Linked DNA regions of Homo sapiens: all the other regions are linked to region 3. The links are contacts of gene promoters, found by promoter capture Hi-C in blood cells and fetal thymus (Javierre and others, 2016). All regions are on one chromosome and are shown on one strand. The core of a region is centred on a gene start or on the middle of the fragment in contact, and the rest is flanking DNA. Distances in the headings are between cores, read along the strand shown.

Region 1 (3,114 bases), core at 371-2,870, 450 kb after region 3:
CTGTAATCCCAGCTACTCAGGTGGCTGAGCCAGGAGAATCGCTTGAACCCAGGAGGTGGATGTTGCAGTGAGCCAAGATGGTGCCATTGCACTCCAGCCTGGGCAACAAGAGCGAAACTGTCTCAAAAAATAATAATAAAATGCAAGTGCCTGGGCCCCACTGCCCAGAGATTCTGTCTTAGTCCATTCAGGTTGCTGTAGCAAAATGCCTTAGACTGGGCCATTTATAAACAAAAGAAATGTATTGCTCACAGTTCTGGAGGCTGTGAAGTCCAAGATCAAGGTGTTGGCAGATTCAAGGTCTATTCCTCACAGACAGTGCCTTCTATGCATCCTCACAGGAAAAAGAGGCAAACAAACTCCCTCAGGCCTCTTTTTTTTTTTTTTTTTCAGACAGAGTCTCACCCAGGCTGGAGTGCAGTGGCACAATCTCAGCTCACTACAACCTTCACCTCCCGGGTTCAAACAATTCTCATGCCTCAGCCTCCTGAATAGCTGGGATTACAGGGGCATGCCACCACAGCTGGCTAATTTGTTTTTGTATTTTTAATGCAGACGGGGTTTCCCCATGTTGCCCAGGCTGGTCTTGAAGTCCTGGCCTCGAGCAGTCCTCCCACCTTGGCGTCCCAAAGTGCTGGGATTACAGGCATGAGCCACTGCACCCAGCCTCCCTCAGGCCGCTTTTATAAGGGCACTAATCCCATTCTTGAGGGCTCTGCCTCCATGACCACATCACCTCTTAAAAGCTCTTTCTTAATACAATTGCACTGGAGATTAGGTCTCAACATGAATTTAATGGGGGGCACAAACATTCAGACCATAGCAGATTCTGACTTAATGAATCTGGGGGGACCCAGACATCTGTATTTTTAAAAGTTCTTCTGATGTTTCTAATATGTAACCACAGTTGGGGAACATTAGATGAAAAAAATCACCTTGCAGATTTTGCTCCCTAATACCCAAGTAGGTTATCTTTTTCTTCCTCATTGCATTGGTTGGGCTGTTTCATTTTAAAAGGAAAAAACTCAATCCAACAGGCATATACCAAAGGAGGGGGTAGTGATGAGGACTCAGGGTGTCTGTGGAAGTCCAGGATGAGGCTGCAGCAGGAACTGGAAGGCCGTTGCCCACCCCAAATTACTGCTTCTGCATCCAGCCCTCTCTCTGCCTTCTCTGCTTCTCCATCCGCAGAGCCAAGAGGGGCAGTCTTCAGGACGCCCGTGTGCACATCTCCCCATGAAGACATCAGCGCAGCCTGGGTCCCACAGGAGGCTCTGATCATACTAGTGGGGGTGGGGTGACCTCCGGGACCAGTTAACTGAGGTCAAAGGGGTGGACCATAATATGGTTTGATGTCTGTGTCCCTGTCTACACTTTGCATCAAATGTCATCCTCATTGTTGGAGGTGGGGCCTGCGGGGAGGTGACTGGATCATGGGGGTGGTTTCTCTGGAATAATTTGGCACCATCCTCCTAGTCCTGTTCTCATGATAGAGTTCTCACGAGATCTGGTCGTTTACAAGCGTGTGGGGCCCTCCCCTCTCTCTCTTCCTCCTGCTCCAGCCATGTAAGATATATTTGCTTCCCCTTCGCCTTCCGCCATGATTGTAAGTTTCCAATTAAACCTCTTTTCTTTATAAGTTACCCAGCCTCAGGCATTATTATTATTAATTTTTTTTTTGAGACCGAGTTTTGCTCTTGTCGCCCAGGCTGGAGTTCAATGGTGCAATCTCGGCTCATTGCAACCTCCATCTCCCAAGTTCAAGCGATTCTCCTGCCTCGGCCTCCCAGGTAGCTGGGATTACAGGCACCCATCACCATGCCTGGCTAATTTTTTGTATTTGTAGTAGAGATGGGGTTTCGCCATGTTGGGCAGGCTGGTCTCCAACTCCTGACCTCAAGTGATCTGCCGCCCTCGGCCTCCCAAAGTGCTGGGATTACAGGTGTGAACCACCACACCCAGCCCAGGCATTTCTTTATAGCAGTTCAAGAACAGACTAATACAGACTTCTGTGGTACAAAAACAGCCTCCCAGGTACTGGTGACTGGTGTTAGAGAGCTGCTTGCAGTCTACCTCATCCCTCTCCCACCAGCTCACACCCCCACAATACTCTTTTTCTTCCAATTGTCATAATATTTTGCTGTATCTATTTACCATTAACCATACACTAGACAGCCTTTCCTTTTCTCCTTTTAATAAACTCACTTTTTAAACTTGAATGTGGCCATTTTGTAGGCAGTGGCACCTGTGAAGTCGAGGGTTGCAATGTGTTCGAAATGTTTCAATAATGCATATTTGCATATGCCAGGCCATATTAGAGCTGGAGGCAGAAGGGAAAACATCAATAATATGGATGCTACCTCTGTTCAAAATTTCAGTATTTTGTTCATCGGGAATATTTTTGCATTTTGATTGTTTTACATTGGATTAAATTATTATGTATCTCAATGATTATGGGGGTTTTTAATGTCCTCTTAAATTTTCACCCAAGGCAAGCATCTTACCTGCCCTACTTCAGTTCCAGTCCTGCAGAATTATTTAAGTGGAAGCTCGAAATAATCATGCCCGTGTCACCTGAGACCTCTTGAGTCCCACACTTTGGAAACACTCACTTCACCTGCCTAAAATAGAATCAGTGAAGCAGAGGACGCCTTTCATGTCTGCTGGTGCAAATCCCTCTCTCCCAAGTGAGGAAACTGAGGCCCAGCGAGGTCGCAGTGACAGGCCCCAGCCCCACAGCCGTTTGATGACAACTTCACATCGGAGCCCAGTTCAGTCCGGACACTTTGCCTGCACCTGATTCTTCTGTCGCTTCATTAATCTTATGAATAAGGGAAGAAAAAAGTAAGGGCTATGGCCTCAGCTTTCCATAACTTTGCTTTATTTCTGGAGTGAGCAATCCAGCCCCGGCCGAAGGAATCATAAATCCCTCTGGGAAAGAGCCCTGGAACTCCTGAGCCCACGCCAGGGCGGCCCCGGGGGGCACAGGGCTGGCCAGGGAGAGATCGCCCTGCATGCCACTTCCACCACCCAAGCCAGGACCCGACATTTTTAGGCAGTGACATCAGAGTGGAGTGAACAGAGACCACCCTTGAAAGGAAAAACAAGTCACAA
Region 2 (3,502 bases), core at 538-3,037, 470 kb after region 3:
CCTCGCTGGGCCCTGGTACAGCCCGTGAACCACGTCGTTGTCAGCCCTTACTCTAAAGCACACGTGGCTCTCTGCATGCAGGCAGAGCTGGGTGAACTGATTTTCCCGGGCTGCCATAACCACGTCGTGAGACCAGGCAGCTCAAACCCCAGATATGCACTTTCTTATCATTCTCAAGGCTGAACATCTAGGATCAGGTGCCAGCAGGGCTGGTTCCTCCCGAGGCTTCCCTCCCTGGCTTGTAGGCAGCCATCTTCTCCCTGTGTTCTCATATGGTCATCCCTCTGTATGTGTCTGTGTCCTCATCCCCTGTTCTATGGGGACACCAGTCATTGGATTAGGGCCCAATGACTCACTTTAAGTTAAGCACCTCCTTAAAGACCCTATCTCCAAACATGGTGACATTCTGAGGGCCCGGGGCTAGAGCTTCCACACAGGAATTTATCAGGAACAAAATTCAGCCTATAATGAGTAAACAGAGACAGTACCTGTTGAGACGTGCGTCCATGGGTGGACTGCTGAGAACGCGGATTCTCACCCTCAGCGTATTCCCTCAGCCAAGCACAGCGAGGTAAGGTCATTTATAGTTAGCTGGCTTTTGACAATCACAAAGCCAGTGCCCCTCATCTGGGCTTCACCTCCAAGCCTGCGCGTCCCTCTCCCCTCCTGGCTCTGCGAGGGTTAATCGGAAGGTCTCTGGAGTTGGGTGGACTTACTGCTCCAGACCTTTACCATCTCACCCTGACTGCAGGGCTCACATTTCTCACTTAATTACTTGCCCTGCAATCAGAAGAGATAGCCCGTTTCTGTGTTGAGTTGGCTGCAGCTGTGAACTGTTTATTTACTTTTCCTCAGCCCGGGAATGGCTGTAATTTAAAGGTTCAGATCTCAGCTACCCTGCCTGGTGCAAACCCTGCTTAAGCACTTCCATATTGCTGGGGTGGAATGTTGCTGGAAGCTGCCCCCGCTGCCCACCTCCCTTCCCTGGACAGGAGAGCTGAAAAGGCAGGTGTTCCTGGTTATCAAGCCTGCCCATCCAAGGAGCTGGGCAGAGAACCTGTAAGCCACAAACAGCGGCTAGGACTGTGAGCTGCTAGGATCGGGACTGCCCCAAGCCACCCTCCTGCAGAAAAAAAAGTGGTCCCTGCCACAGTTCAAGCCCCAGCTCTCACTAATTCCTGTGCCAAATGGTGTAATTACCACTTAAGTTGTCAAATGGCAACCAGATGGCCTTACCTTTCACACCGGCAGCTTAATAAGCTTTTAGGCATGACCTCTGCCGCTTGTCCTCCACCTGCACAGGCCCCGATTTGTGAAATCCGAGCCCACAATTAGATCTGATAATGAGAGCTGAGGTGCGCCCAGCCTTGAACTCCGCAAGCTCGCTGCAAGGGGTGCCCAGCAAGTCACCCCATGCCACTGACAAATGACATGCGTCCCACCCCAAACAGAGGGGCCCTGCACACAGGCCCCTGGGGCCTGCCTAGGGAGATCACAGGCCCAGAGGCCCTGAGACCCAAGTGCATTTGGGGGGCCAGACAGTTCTGCAAGCTCAAAGCATGCTGTTTCTGGAAACAGCAAGCTAGAGGCTCAGACCCCATCATGTCCCCCTACAGCTTTGTCCGCGGCCTGCCTGCCCCGGGGCAGCCCCCCGGGAGGCACTGTTTCTCCATCAGCACAAACAGGGGGGCACCCCACATGGGGATCAACCTGCTGCCAAAAACCCGTATGTGACTGTCTGTCAATTCACCCCTTTGAGTTTCCGTGAGCTGGAGTTACTATAGTGAGGCTTTCAGCACACGGCAGAGTGGTCTCGCACTGCAACGGATCACAGTCCAGTGTCTGTTTTGAAAATCACATTGTTCTTTCCAGGGATGGGGACAAACCCCTCCAATAGTTATGGAAGTCACATGTACCAGGAACCATTTCCAGCACTTCACACATACTCACTTATTAATCCTCACAATAACCTAAGCACTGTTTTTCTCCCCCATTTATAGAAAACTGTGGCACAGAGAGGTTAACTAACTTACCCAAAGTCACACAGCTGGCCAGTAGTGGGAATGGGATTTGAAACTAAGTGAGGAAGCAGACACTCTGAATGTATACAACCAAGATTCCATTGGATTTTTAAAAACAATTTGATAAAAACTTTATTAATACACAGTAGACATGTTGTACCTACTAAGCCAAGCTAAAGGTTTGTGTAAGGGCTTGGAAAAGTCCAAATATTTTAAGAAGAGCCCAGGCACTGATACTTCTCATGCTCTGACAAACCTGTGAAAATGGGCAGGTACAAAAGAGCAGCACATCAGAAGCTTCCTCTGCCCTGGGTTGGAGCAGAAGGAAACCAAGGAGAGACGAACACTGAGCGCCTGGCCGGGGACGGAAGTTTCCATGGAAGCCTCTCGTCCCCAATCTTTGCCAAGAGGATTCTAGTAACAGCAGCTCCCACAGCAGAGAGTGATGGGGAGGCCAAGACCCCAGAGAGAAACTGACAAATATACTTATTCCGACTCTGCGTTACATTTGACTCTTTTTAGAGGTCAGTATTCCCTTCTCCCGACCTGCACAGGGACCTTGGGTTTTAGGGTGTCTCATCTCGTGTTGTCATTGAAAACTTGCCCTTAAGATTGTGTCCCATTCTTGCTAAGGTGCAAATGACTGATACTGAGGAAGAGGAGATTGCACTTCATGTTACCACCTTCAGATCCATTTGGCTTTTCAAACAAGAGGCTCGGAGAAGACCTATATTAGTCTGTTTTCACGCTGCTGATAAAGACATACCCGAGACTGGGTCATTTACAAAGAAAAAGAGGTCTAATGGCTCACAGTTCCACGTGGCTGGGGAGAGGTCTAATGGCTCACAGTTCCACGTGGCTGGGGAGAGGTCTAATGGCTCACAGTTCCACGTGGCTGGGGAGAGGTCTAATGGCTCACAGTTCCACGTGGCTGGGGAGGTTTCACAATCTTGGCAAAAAGTGAAAAGAGTGTCTTACATGGTGGCAGACAAGAGAGAATCAGAGAACCAAGCAAAAGGGGTTTCCCCTTATAAAGCCATCAGATCTCATGAGACTTATTCAGTACCATGAGAACAGTATGGGGGAAACCACCCCCATGATTCAGTTATCTCCCACCTGGTCCCTCCCACAACACAAGGGAATTATGGGAGCTACGATTCAAGGTGAGATTTGGGTGAGGACACAGCAAAACCATATCAAGACCCAAGATCAACATGATGATCCAATATTATCATTTTTACCAAAATAAGAGTGGGGGAAGAGGAAGCAATGGCTTTCAACAATAAATGTGTATATAGTCAGGAATATGGAACAAATGGGCTCAGACTTTTCACATAAAGAAATGCCCAAACGCTGGTGCTTGGGCAGGTTTTGGTCTATGGCCCACACTCCTGGAAAGGGGATCCTCCTCTGTTAGAAGTTCTTTGACAGGAAATATAGAAGAACAAGGCCTTAAATTACACAAGTGGTGCCATCATCAG
Region 3 (3,275 bases), core at 553-3,052:
GCGGCCGGGCTGCTCGCTGGACCCACGTTAGAGGAGCAGGGCCGCGGAGGGAGGCCCGAGGTGTCCCAGGGACTGGCCTGTCGCTCCCGCAGGCAGTGCCGGTACCCAGGCCGGTTTTTCCACCCTTCCTGCGACTTCCTTTTTGGTATTTTAAATTTACCCGCTCCCCTGCGGTCTACTTATTCCATGGGCTGGATACCCAGGAACCCCAAACACACGGGTTATTTCTGATTTTCTCATTTTGAAAAAGGATGCCCGCCACGTTTCCGTGTTCAGAGGCTACCTGGGCACTCACATCCTCAGCCGGGTGTGGCAGCGGCAGACACTCCCCCTACCCCTGTAAGTGCCCTCGGTGCCTCTCCCTCCTTCCTGGCCCACTGGCAGTGGGCCATTTCTACACCCACCTGCCATCCTCCCCCTTCCCTCATCTCTTTGACATGCTCACACGATTTGCTCAATGAGACGCCAGTTATCCGAATGTGTGTGTGTGTGTGTGGGTGTGTGTGTGACAGTGTGTGTGTGTTTTAATATTCAGGGGGTGGTCATAAACAGGAAGTAGTCACACTAGGTGCCTCTACCCTTACCCTAACCGGTGGAGTGGGGAGGAGAGGCCCCCTTCGAAATCAGCATGATTCAGGATTTTTTATTCAAACAGTGATGTGGGAAAATGTAAAATGAGATGGGGGTGGAGGGCCGCGTACACCCCAGGGTGGGTGGATACAGGGAGAGCAAGCAGGCTTCCCAAATGCCTAATGTAATCACGGGCCAGCTGCATGCACTTGTAAAGTTGTTATAACCCCCTCCTTGTTATAAACAGGAAAGCCCAGAATATAAAGCTGGAGACCCACATTCACAAATACCAGGCCTCCCGCGCCAGCTGCCACGGCCTCCTTTTATGGTGTTCCTCTCTTGCAACCTTGGCCCCATCAGGAGGACCTTACTTTTGCCCCCGGTTCTCTAAATGGGTTTATTTTGAAACCTTCCTCAATGGAGCTGTGGACCATGAGCTCTTCCCCAGGCCCCCAGTGCCTTAGGCCTTCCCTTCCAGAGAGACTGGGCTCCCAGAGTCCACTTTCCCTCCGATTTCCGGAGAGCCCTGGAAGGGAGGGTGTGGGAGAGCAGGTCCCTAGAGAGTGCCACCTCCTACTGGGTCTGCCACCTGTTTTTCCAGGGAGGGCCGCATCCCCTTCTCAGCAGACACTCAGGCTTCTTAGATACTCTCCCTGCCCCAATCTAAAAGGTTCCTAGGACCTCAGAAAGTGTTTTACTAGACTGTGGCATCTCGATATCTCCGGTTAAGCCTGGGAGAAGAAAAGACCTTTTGTGGGAGGCCCTGGCGTTATGGGGCTCCCCCAGGCCAGCGTAAAACTCATCCCTGCACACCCACCCCCATCTCCACCTCTCCTTCCTGGCTCAGCAGACCCTGCTCTGAGCCACCGCAGTCTACATCCTGCCTCACTGACTGTGTGTGCTTACAGCGTCAAGGGGTGGACGTGATATTTCAAACATCAGATCAGTGCGTTTATATATTGGGTGCCCGGAAATTTTTCCAAATAAACACAGCTTGATTCAACTTGGGTGGGCGGACTTATCAACAGACTAATTCTATAAACAAATGAAGGAATAGCCCCAAAACCGATTGGCTGGTATCAAAAAGACACGTGGAGGGAAAAGCTTGGAGTTTTTCAGCAATGAAATTTTAATTAATGTGGGTGGGCTGAGAACACAAGGACTGTTTATCATAGACAATTTATTTTCCAGGGCTAAGTCAACATATAACAGCAAACTTACAACAATTATTTAACATTTTTAAAGCCATGAAGAAGGGACAGAGCACGGAGCGGCCGGGGAGAGCGGCAGAGCCAGAGGCAGAGGCACGGCTGGCTCCCCGGGAGGGCCCTTGCGGCGCGGGGCGCAGTGCCTAGGCCGCCCGGGTCTCCTGCGTTGCGGGGAGCGCAGCGCAGGCTCTCGCTTGCCATGAGTCACCTCTTCGATCCCCGGCTGCCTGCCCTGGCCGCCTCGCCCATGCTGTATCTGTACGGTCCCGAGAGACCCGGCCTCCCTCTGGCCTTCGCCCCCGCGGCTGCTCTAGCTGCCTCGGGCCGGGCCGAGACCCCGCAGAAGCCTCCCTACAGCTACATCGCGCTCATCGCCATGGCGATCCAGGACGCGCCCGAGCAGAGGGTCACGCTCAACGGCATCTACCAGTTCATCATGGACCGCTTCCCCTTCTACCACGACAACCGGCAGGGCTGGCAGAACAGCATCCGCCACAACCTCTCGCTCAACGACTGCTTCGTCAAGGTGCCCCGCGAGAAAGGGCGGCCGGGCAAGGGCAGCTACTGGACGCTGGACCCCCGCTGCCTGGACATGTTTGAGAACGGCAACTACCGGCGCCGGAAGAGGAAGCCCAAGCCGGGCCCCGGGGCCCCGGAGGCCAAGAGGCCCCGCGCCGAGACGCACCAGCGCAGCGCGGAGGCGCAGCCGGAGGCGGGGAGCGGGGCAGGGGGCTCGGGCCCCGCAATCTCCCGCCTGCAGGCAGCGCCCGCGGGCCCCTCGCCCCTCCTGGACGGCCCCTCTCCGCCGGCGCCCCTCCACTGGCCGGGGACCGCGTCCCCGAACGAGGACGCTGGTGACGCTGCCCAGGGCGCAGCGGCCGTGGCGGTCGGCCAGGCAGCGCGCACAGGGGACGGCCCGGGGTCCCCTCTGCGCCCCGCCTCCCGCAGCTCTCCGAAGAGCTCCGACAAGTCCAAGAGCTTCAGCATAGACAGCATCCTGGCGGGAAAGCAGGGCCAGAAGCCGCCTTCAGGGGACGAACTCCTAGGGGGTGCCAAGCCTGGGCCCGGCGGCCGTCTGGGTGCCTCGCTCCTGGCCGCCTCCTCCAGCCTCCGTCCGCCTTTCAACGCTTCCCTGATGCTCGACCCGCATGTCCAGGGCGGCTTTTACCAGCTCGGGATCCCCTTCCTCTCTTATTTCCCCCTGCAGGTTCCCGACACGGTACTCCACTTCCAGTAAAGCAAACAATGGCACGGTTCTTCTCCCGGCCCAGCCTGAGCCTCCGCTGAGCGAAAGGCCACAGCTCCCACCGGCGGAGGATTTTAAAATGATCTTTGCCTGGGTCGGCCTGTGGGTTCAGGGAAGTGTTACCAACCATTGCGCGCAGGTGGGCGCGCTCGCCTGCCTTCTCCGAAGCAAACTTTTCCCAGCAACTGGGAGCAGCTACGGAGACTTAAAAGATCCCCGCGGGGTCGTGGGCACCGCACGTGGGCCCTGCA
Region 4 (3,352 bases), core at 114-2,613, 270 kb after region 3:
TGCGCCATCCCGCCTCAGAAAGGGACCTTGGAAAGTCATCTTCCTCCTGGGACGCCCGGCCCATCATCACCAACAGACAGCATAGACAACAGAGTTGCCACTTGAGACTCTGCGTCAACTTCTAGCTCTACCTCTGGGGCCAGAGAACTGCCAAGTCTTCTAACCAACATACATTTGGTGATCAGAAAACACCCTGTGGTGAGAGGGGGTGGGGATCAGCAGCACAGAGGGACCTCAACTTGTGCACATTTAAGCAAACACATGAGCTTTCCAGCTGCTGAGCCGGCAGTGTGATCACGCCCCATTCCACTTTTCTTCCATCAGCAAAACAATGCCAGGCCTGAAGGGAAATGGAGAGCTGTCCTGCCCAGGACGACAGCAGCCCCTGCTCAGTTTCCTGTTGTTCTCGCGATGGCGACCGCAGCCAAGTGGCCCCTTCGGATGCTCTGGGGGAAGCTTGCTTTGGGCTCCGCCAACTGCCTGAAAAGCACTCGCTCCGTATGGCACCTGCAGAGCCTTGTCATCGGAGAATTTTCTTTGGCCTCAGCCTTAGTGGGTGGGTCAGCATCTGCCTGTGGGGAAGAAGAATTTATTTTCTAAATTCTAGATTTACGAAAGAAAACATTTTGCCTTCAAAGCCACTGGTGAGCCCTATTGGGTACAGGGTGTGTTGAATTTCATCCACGTCTTACCATCTCAGGACCAAAAGAGAGGACCAAAGTTGTAAAAATAACCACATCACAGGCTGGAAAAGCCCATAAGAGAGAAACAAGGTCAGTGGTTTTTGAACTCGGTTCCAAGAAACCTAAAGGTGCCTCAAAAAGCGCATGGGGAGAGGGGACTGTGGGGTCTACTGAATATTAGCAGGGTGACTTTGGACAAATGAATTCCCTTCTGGAAACCTCACTTTCCTCATCTGTGAAATGGAGGTCATGTGCCTACCTTCCCTATGTCATAGAGTTATTGAGAGGATGAAATGGGACAGTTCTAGGCACCTGGTGACAGCTCGATGCACTTGGACCTAGTTTCAACCTGCAGGATGATTTGGCGGAAAGGACAAAGGGCATTTCAGGACAAAGGCTGGCAAAGCAAAGGCCAGCTGGCAGGTGTGTGTGCCATGTGTGGGGAAGGAGGAGCCGACCCCAAGTGGCTGGGCAGGGGGTGCTCCTTAGCTTCCAAGTGCTGGCCTCTCTCACTGACCCCCTCAGCTAAGCCTCCGTTCCAGGACACACGGACTTCTCTTTCCATCTGCCTCAGGGCATTTCCTTCCTGGACCCAAACTGATCAGAGACAGACAATGAGCTTCTTTATAACATCTTCCACAATTTAGGGTGAGGACATATAGAAAAGAAGTGGTCTTGCTGCTGGAAATGTTCGCAAACCCTTGTGACTACAGATTAACTTACTTCATTAGTTCTAGTAATGGTCATGGTAATAAAAAAGAAAAAACTTATCACCATTATCATCATCATTACTGCCAACATCGTCATCATCACCATCATCATCACCACCATCATCACCACCATAACCATCATCACTGTCACCATCACTATCACCATCACCATCATCATCACCATCACCATCATCACCATCATCACCATCACCATCATCACCACCATCACTGTCACCATCACTATCACCATCACCATCATCACCACCATCACTGTCACCATCACTATCACTATCACCATCATCACCACCATCACCATCATCACCACCATGATCACCACCATCAACATCATCACTGTCACCATCACTATCACCATCACCATCATCACCACCATCACCATCACCATCATCATCACCATCACCATCATCACTGTCACCATCACTATCACATCACCATCATCACCAACATCACCATCACCATCATCACCATCACCATCATCAACATCATCACCATCATCATTACCGTCATCACCATCATCATCATAACCATCATCACCATCACCATCACCATCACCATCAACACCATCACCATCACTATCGTCATCACCATCACCAACATCATCATCACTGCCAAGGAGAAGCAAGGCCATTGGATGGTTGTGGACAGTAATTTCCCCAAATAGATTTAGTGAGCAGGATACAGACTGCTAACACCAACATGGGTTGAGTCAGGCTAGTGATGTGTCACAGAATGAGACAGTGAAAGCCCCTGCCCTCAGGCAGCTAATGTTTCCAGGGGAGGAAGGAACTTGATCCATGCGCATTAGCTTGGTACTTTCACTGTGGGGCCAGTGGAAGTGAAGGGATGAAGTTGGAAGATAGAAGCTTGGCATTGTTTTGGCTTCAGCATCTCCAAGAATCGCAGATGAGCTTGATCTCACTGACTTCCAGCACTGGGATGACAGCCTGTGTTCAGAAGAAATGTGAAGCTGCCTTCAGACTGTGTGCTTGAGACTTGCCTGACCTGGGCCTGGAGAAAGGAAGCGTAGCCAGAGTGTAGATGGAGGTCCCAACTCTAACCCACCCCCAGAGCTCACAATATTTGCAAAATTATTTCAAAAATCTTTGTGTAAAAGCTCACACCTATAATCCCAGCACTTTGGGAGGCCGAGGCGGGCAGATCACGAGGTCAACAGATCGAGACCATCCTGGCCAACATGGTGAAACCCCGTCTCTATTAAAAATACAAAAATTACCTGGTCATGGTGGCACGCACCTGTAGTCCCAGCTACTTGGGACGTTGAGGCAGGAGAATCGCTTGAACCCAGGAGGCAGAGGTTGCAGTGAGCCAAGATCGCGCCACTGCATTCCAGCCTGGTGACAGAGCGAGACTCCATCTCAAAAAATAAAAAATAAACTTAAAAAATTAACTGAAATGTTAAGTATTGAACAAGGTGCATATCACACAATCCTATAGGGAGAGGAAGAGGTAGGATGTTGTCAGGCACTAAAAATGTCCTGCAGGCCCTCCTAACACATCACGATTTTCCAAAGGGTGGACCCACTGGACTGATTAGAGACAGGAAGAGGCATGGGGGTGGCAAATGTATATGTTCCATTTCTAGAATTCAGAGGCCAGTTTCCTTGTTTAGGGGGGCAAAAGTGTTTAAAATAGATAAATCACAAAGGAAAAATGAAAATTGTTCAATTTTGTTGTCAAGGTTACAACTCCCGCAGCATTAAAGCTGCAAGGCTTTGGCCAGGCTCAGTGGCTCACGCCTGTAATCCCAACATAAATGTTGGGAGGCTGAGGCGAGAGAATCACTTGAGCCCAGGAGTTTGAGACCAGCCTGGGCAACATAGTGAGACCCTGTCTGCTCAAAAAAATTTTTTTTAATTAGCTAGACATGGTGATACACACCAGAGCCTGAGGCAGGAGGATTGCTCGAGCCAAAGAGGTCAA
Region 5 (3,614 bases), core at 685-3,184, 310 kb after region 3:
ACCAATTTCACCATTTGATTCTGTAATCCCTGGGTGTATCTGAAAGTCTCCATTGTCAAAGACCAATCAAATATTGAGGGTGCCTTTGTGGACTGCGGTTTTCTATCTGTTTGTTTATTTAACAAGTGTCTGCTAATCTTTAGCAGGAGGCTGGGGATGGATGTAAGGATGGATGGATGAATGGATGGATGGATGGATGGATGAATGGATGGATGAATGGATGGATGGATGAATGAATGGATGGATGGATGGATGAATGGATGGATGGATGGATGAATGGATGGATGGATGAATGAATGGATGGATGAATGGATGGATGGATGGATGAATGGATGGATGAATGGATGGATGGATGAATGGATGGATGAATGAATGGATGGATGAATAGATGAATGAATGGATGGATGAATGGATGGATGGATGGATGGATGGATGGATGGATGGATGAATGGATGGATGAATGAATGGATGGATGAATGGATGGATGGATGGATGGATGGATGGATGGATGGATGGATGAATGAAAGGATGGATGAATGAATGGATGGATGAATGGATGGATGGATGGATGAATGGATGGATGGATGGATGAATGGATGGATGGATGGATGAATGAATGGATGGATGAATGAATGGATGGATGAATGGATGGATGGATGGATGGATGGATGGATGGATGAATGGATGGATGAATGGATGGATGGATGGATGGATGGATGGATGGATGAATGGATGAATGAATGGATGGATGGATGGATGGATGGATGGATGGAGAGACGGAGATAGAAATAGATAATAGAGATAGACAAATGATAGAGATGGATACATAGATGATATAGACAGATGATAGAGATAGATGATAGATTAGATAGATAGATAGATAGATAGATAGATTGATAGATAGATGTTAAATACATGATGCAAAACCACTTGATGTTATTAGGGACATTCATTATAATCAAAGAGCATCATAAGTCTAATGACTAAAGACTTACGATGTAAATTGTGTTAAGAGCTATTGAGGACAATAACCTCACTTAAGCTTAAATGAGTACAATTATTGTGTCAATTAAAAGAAGAAATTGAGTTAAAAACAAGCAAAGCTTTACCTGAGACTGCAAATGATAACTGAAACCTGGTCTTCTCATTGGCAAATTAAGTAGTCATTAGTAGATAAACTTAAGTTAGGGCACAGACATGTGGAGTTGGTCACCCTCACACGTGGACACATCCCACTGGTGAGGTCCTGAATCTCACACCTGAACGCAGTCAAAAGTTGGAGATGTGACTCTCCTACCAGTGCCCAGCCAACAGGTGAGATGGTGACTCATTTCTGGACCCAGTTCACAGGCGCTATGATGATTCTCATGCCTGGAACCAACCAATAGGCCAATTAAAACATCTTTAATTGCATGAATGTGAGAGTCTCTGCTCCCAACATATGACAGGGTGTCTGTGGGTTCAAATGATGACGCCTGCTATCCCGGATGCCAGCACTAGAACGTTGTCTTATGATCATCTGTACCCTCCTGCCTGTTGGGGGATCATGGACCCCTAGAGTCAGGGGTCACATCCTGTCCATCTCTATCCCAACACTGGCCATGAGAGGCCTTAGTCGATCCCAACAGGCCTGGGTCCAACCGCTCTCCAGTCTCCTAACTTCCCTAGACCTCATCTATTCCGATCAAAAGATAGGAACAACAATGTTTCTGGGAGAATTAATTGAACCCGTGTGTGTTTCACACTTGTATGGCACCTATGGGTGCAAACAGCTCAGTGTACATTAAGGAAATACCATTCTCCTCCTCCCCATCATCTCTAGCTTCTACTATGTACTTTCCATGTGTTGGAAACTAAGCGATTTTGTGAAAATCAAAATCCCACAGAGCCTCCCATGCACAGTGAGGGCACTATGATCCTTACTCCCTTTGTTCCAAGAAGCAGACGGAGGCACAGAGAGAGGAAGTTGCTAGAGGCTGACCCAGGCAGGAAGTGGCAGAGGCAGGATTTGAACCCAAGCATCTGGTCCCAGAGCCTGGGTTCTGAACCCTAGTAATGTGGGCCTCTCTGAATGTAGAATGCCTGTTGAAAACTAGTTGAAAACATGCCATTGGATGTACTTAGGCACAAAAATGTTATTTACACGCCTGAATAAAATTAGAAGATTTCACAGTTAATTTAGCACATTGGACCATTACGTTGGATAATTCGAATCAGCTATTCCATTTGATCTTTTCTCAAATTGGCTGATGCTATTATTACTATGGCTAAAAATGAAGAGGAAACCCTTCCTGTGCTGTCTCGTAGCCAAGTCAGCTAACGATTTTCTAATATCTGTCATTGTGAACTGGAAAATGTGTCCTAATCTCTGTGAAAGTTTCCAAGTAAGATCTTTATCACCAAACACACAGAAGGGATGGAGATAAACAGCCCAGTTCACCCCAAACGCCTTTTTCTGTTGTGTTTTGAGAACATGCATGATTTATTTCATTTGCAGTTGAGCATTTTGGGTGGCGGCTGTCCCTGTTTTCTGTTTTCCCTTTCCACGGCTTGGCATTTATTCTACGTGGGAGAAGCATGGGGTGCAGAGCGGTGGCACTGGGACTGCGTGCCGATCCCTGAGGCCTGTTCCCATGAGTAAACCAGCTCTTTTGGCCCTAGAGCCCAGCTTCCTGGGGAATATCCCAGAACAGTGACTGCAAGGTTCAATGGTGCACCAAAGTCAGGCACCTGCACAAGGAGGCCGTGGGCGGGTTCCCCCATCCTAAAGCTTTAGGAGACCATGGGTGGGTTCCCCGTCCTAAAGCTTCAGGAGGCTGTGGGCGGGTTCCCCATCCTAAAGCTTTAGGAGGTCGTGGGCGGGTTCCCCATCCTAATGCTTTAGGAGGCCGTGGGCGGGTTCCCCATCCTAATGCTTTAGGAGGCTATGGGCGGGTTCCCCCATCCTAAAGCTTTAGGAGGCCATGAGCGGGTTCCCCCATCCTAATGCTTCAGGAGGCCATGGGTGGGTTCCCCATCCTAAAGCTTTAGGCGTGAGGTGCTCGCTGGGAAGGGACCATGCACTCCCCCACCTTCAGGGCGGGCAATTTGAACCACTAGAGTGGAGATGTAGGACGGACAGCAATCCAGTTAGATTTAAAGTCTAAAAAGTTTCAAACATTCCATTTTATGATATTATATAATGTAAGGGAAAATAACTTTTCTCTGTATAACTTGAAAACACAGAGTAACATAGTGTTTTTGGCAGGTGGAGATTTTTAGGTGGGATCACAATGGTTAGTGAGGACATATTCTCCATAGCCCTTTGGGGGAGTGGATGTATAAATCACATATAATATGGGATGTATTTCTGCGTTTCTCAAAGGGGATATCTGTTTAAGAAGGTTAAGAAACATTTATTTGGAGAGTAAGCCAAAGAGTTAGTTAAGAAACCAGCTGCTTTACACGTATGCAATCATTCATGTATTTATTCAAAATGGATGAACATCACACCAGCTGATTGCTCAGCACAGAGCCTGACCACATCTAAACTTCGGAAGTTTCAGCTCTGACTGTGGGTAGGTAGGTTGTAGCAAAGCATGGTTGGGGTGGGGCTTGTCCTAGCCAAGACCCTC

The links. Contacts are between HindIII fragments. The CHiCAGO score rates a contact against its expected background, and 5 or more counts as called.
Region 1: a fragment that was not itself captured here is called in contact with the fragment with the promoter of FOXL1 in region 3 in 3 of 17 cell types (erythroblasts, M1 macrophages and M0 macrophages); the score reaches 5.7 in erythroblasts.
Region 2: a fragment that was not itself captured here is called in contact with the fragment with the promoter of FOXL1 in region 3 in 7 of 17 cell types (M0 macrophages, M1 macrophages, M2 macrophages and 4 more); the score reaches 12.2 in M0 macrophages.
Region 4: a contact is called between a fragment that was not itself captured here and the fragment with the promoter of FOXL1 in region 3, in 1 of 17 cell types (endothelial precursors). The highest score is 7.7, in endothelial precursors.
Region 5: a contact is called between a fragment that was not itself captured here and the fragment with the promoter of FOXL1 in region 3, in 1 of 17 cell types (endothelial precursors). The highest score is 8.1, in endothelial precursors.

What each region holds. Positions count from the first base shown.
Region 1 is chr16:87,030,147-87,033,260 of GRCh38, forward strand. No RefSeq gene overlaps it. Among named protein-coding and RNA genes, the nearest start is that of LINC02181, 26 kb to the right of the region's middle. The HindIII fragment of the contact is 4,197 bases long and covers 1-3,114 here.
Region 2 is chr16:87,046,532-87,050,033 of GRCh38, forward strand. No RefSeq gene overlaps it. Among named protein-coding and RNA genes, the nearest start is that of LINC02181, 9.5 kb to the right of the region's middle. The HindIII fragment of the contact is 1,058 bases long and covers 1,259-2,316 here.
Region 3 is chr16:86,576,747-86,580,021 of GRCh38, forward strand. It overlaps FOXL1 (forkhead box L1), which reads left to right and starts at 1,803. Exons shown (of 1, transcript NM_005250.3): 1 at 1,803-3,275. The coding sequence starts at 1,978. The coding sequence ends at 3,015. RefSeq lists an enhancer at 2,663-3,275. The HindIII fragment of the contact is 3,987 bases long and covers 1,673-3,275 here.
Region 4 is chr16:86,850,507-86,853,858 of GRCh38, forward strand. No RefSeq gene overlaps it. Among named protein-coding and RNA genes, the nearest start is that of LINC02188, 130 kb to the left of the region's middle. RefSeq lists an enhancer at 1-356. The HindIII fragment of the contact is 1,818 bases long and covers 455-2,272 here.
Region 5 is chr16:86,888,959-86,892,572 of GRCh38, forward strand. No RefSeq gene overlaps it. Among named protein-coding and RNA genes, the nearest start is that of LINC02181, 170 kb to the right of the region's middle. The HindIII fragment of the contact is 1,667 bases long and covers 1,102-2,768 here.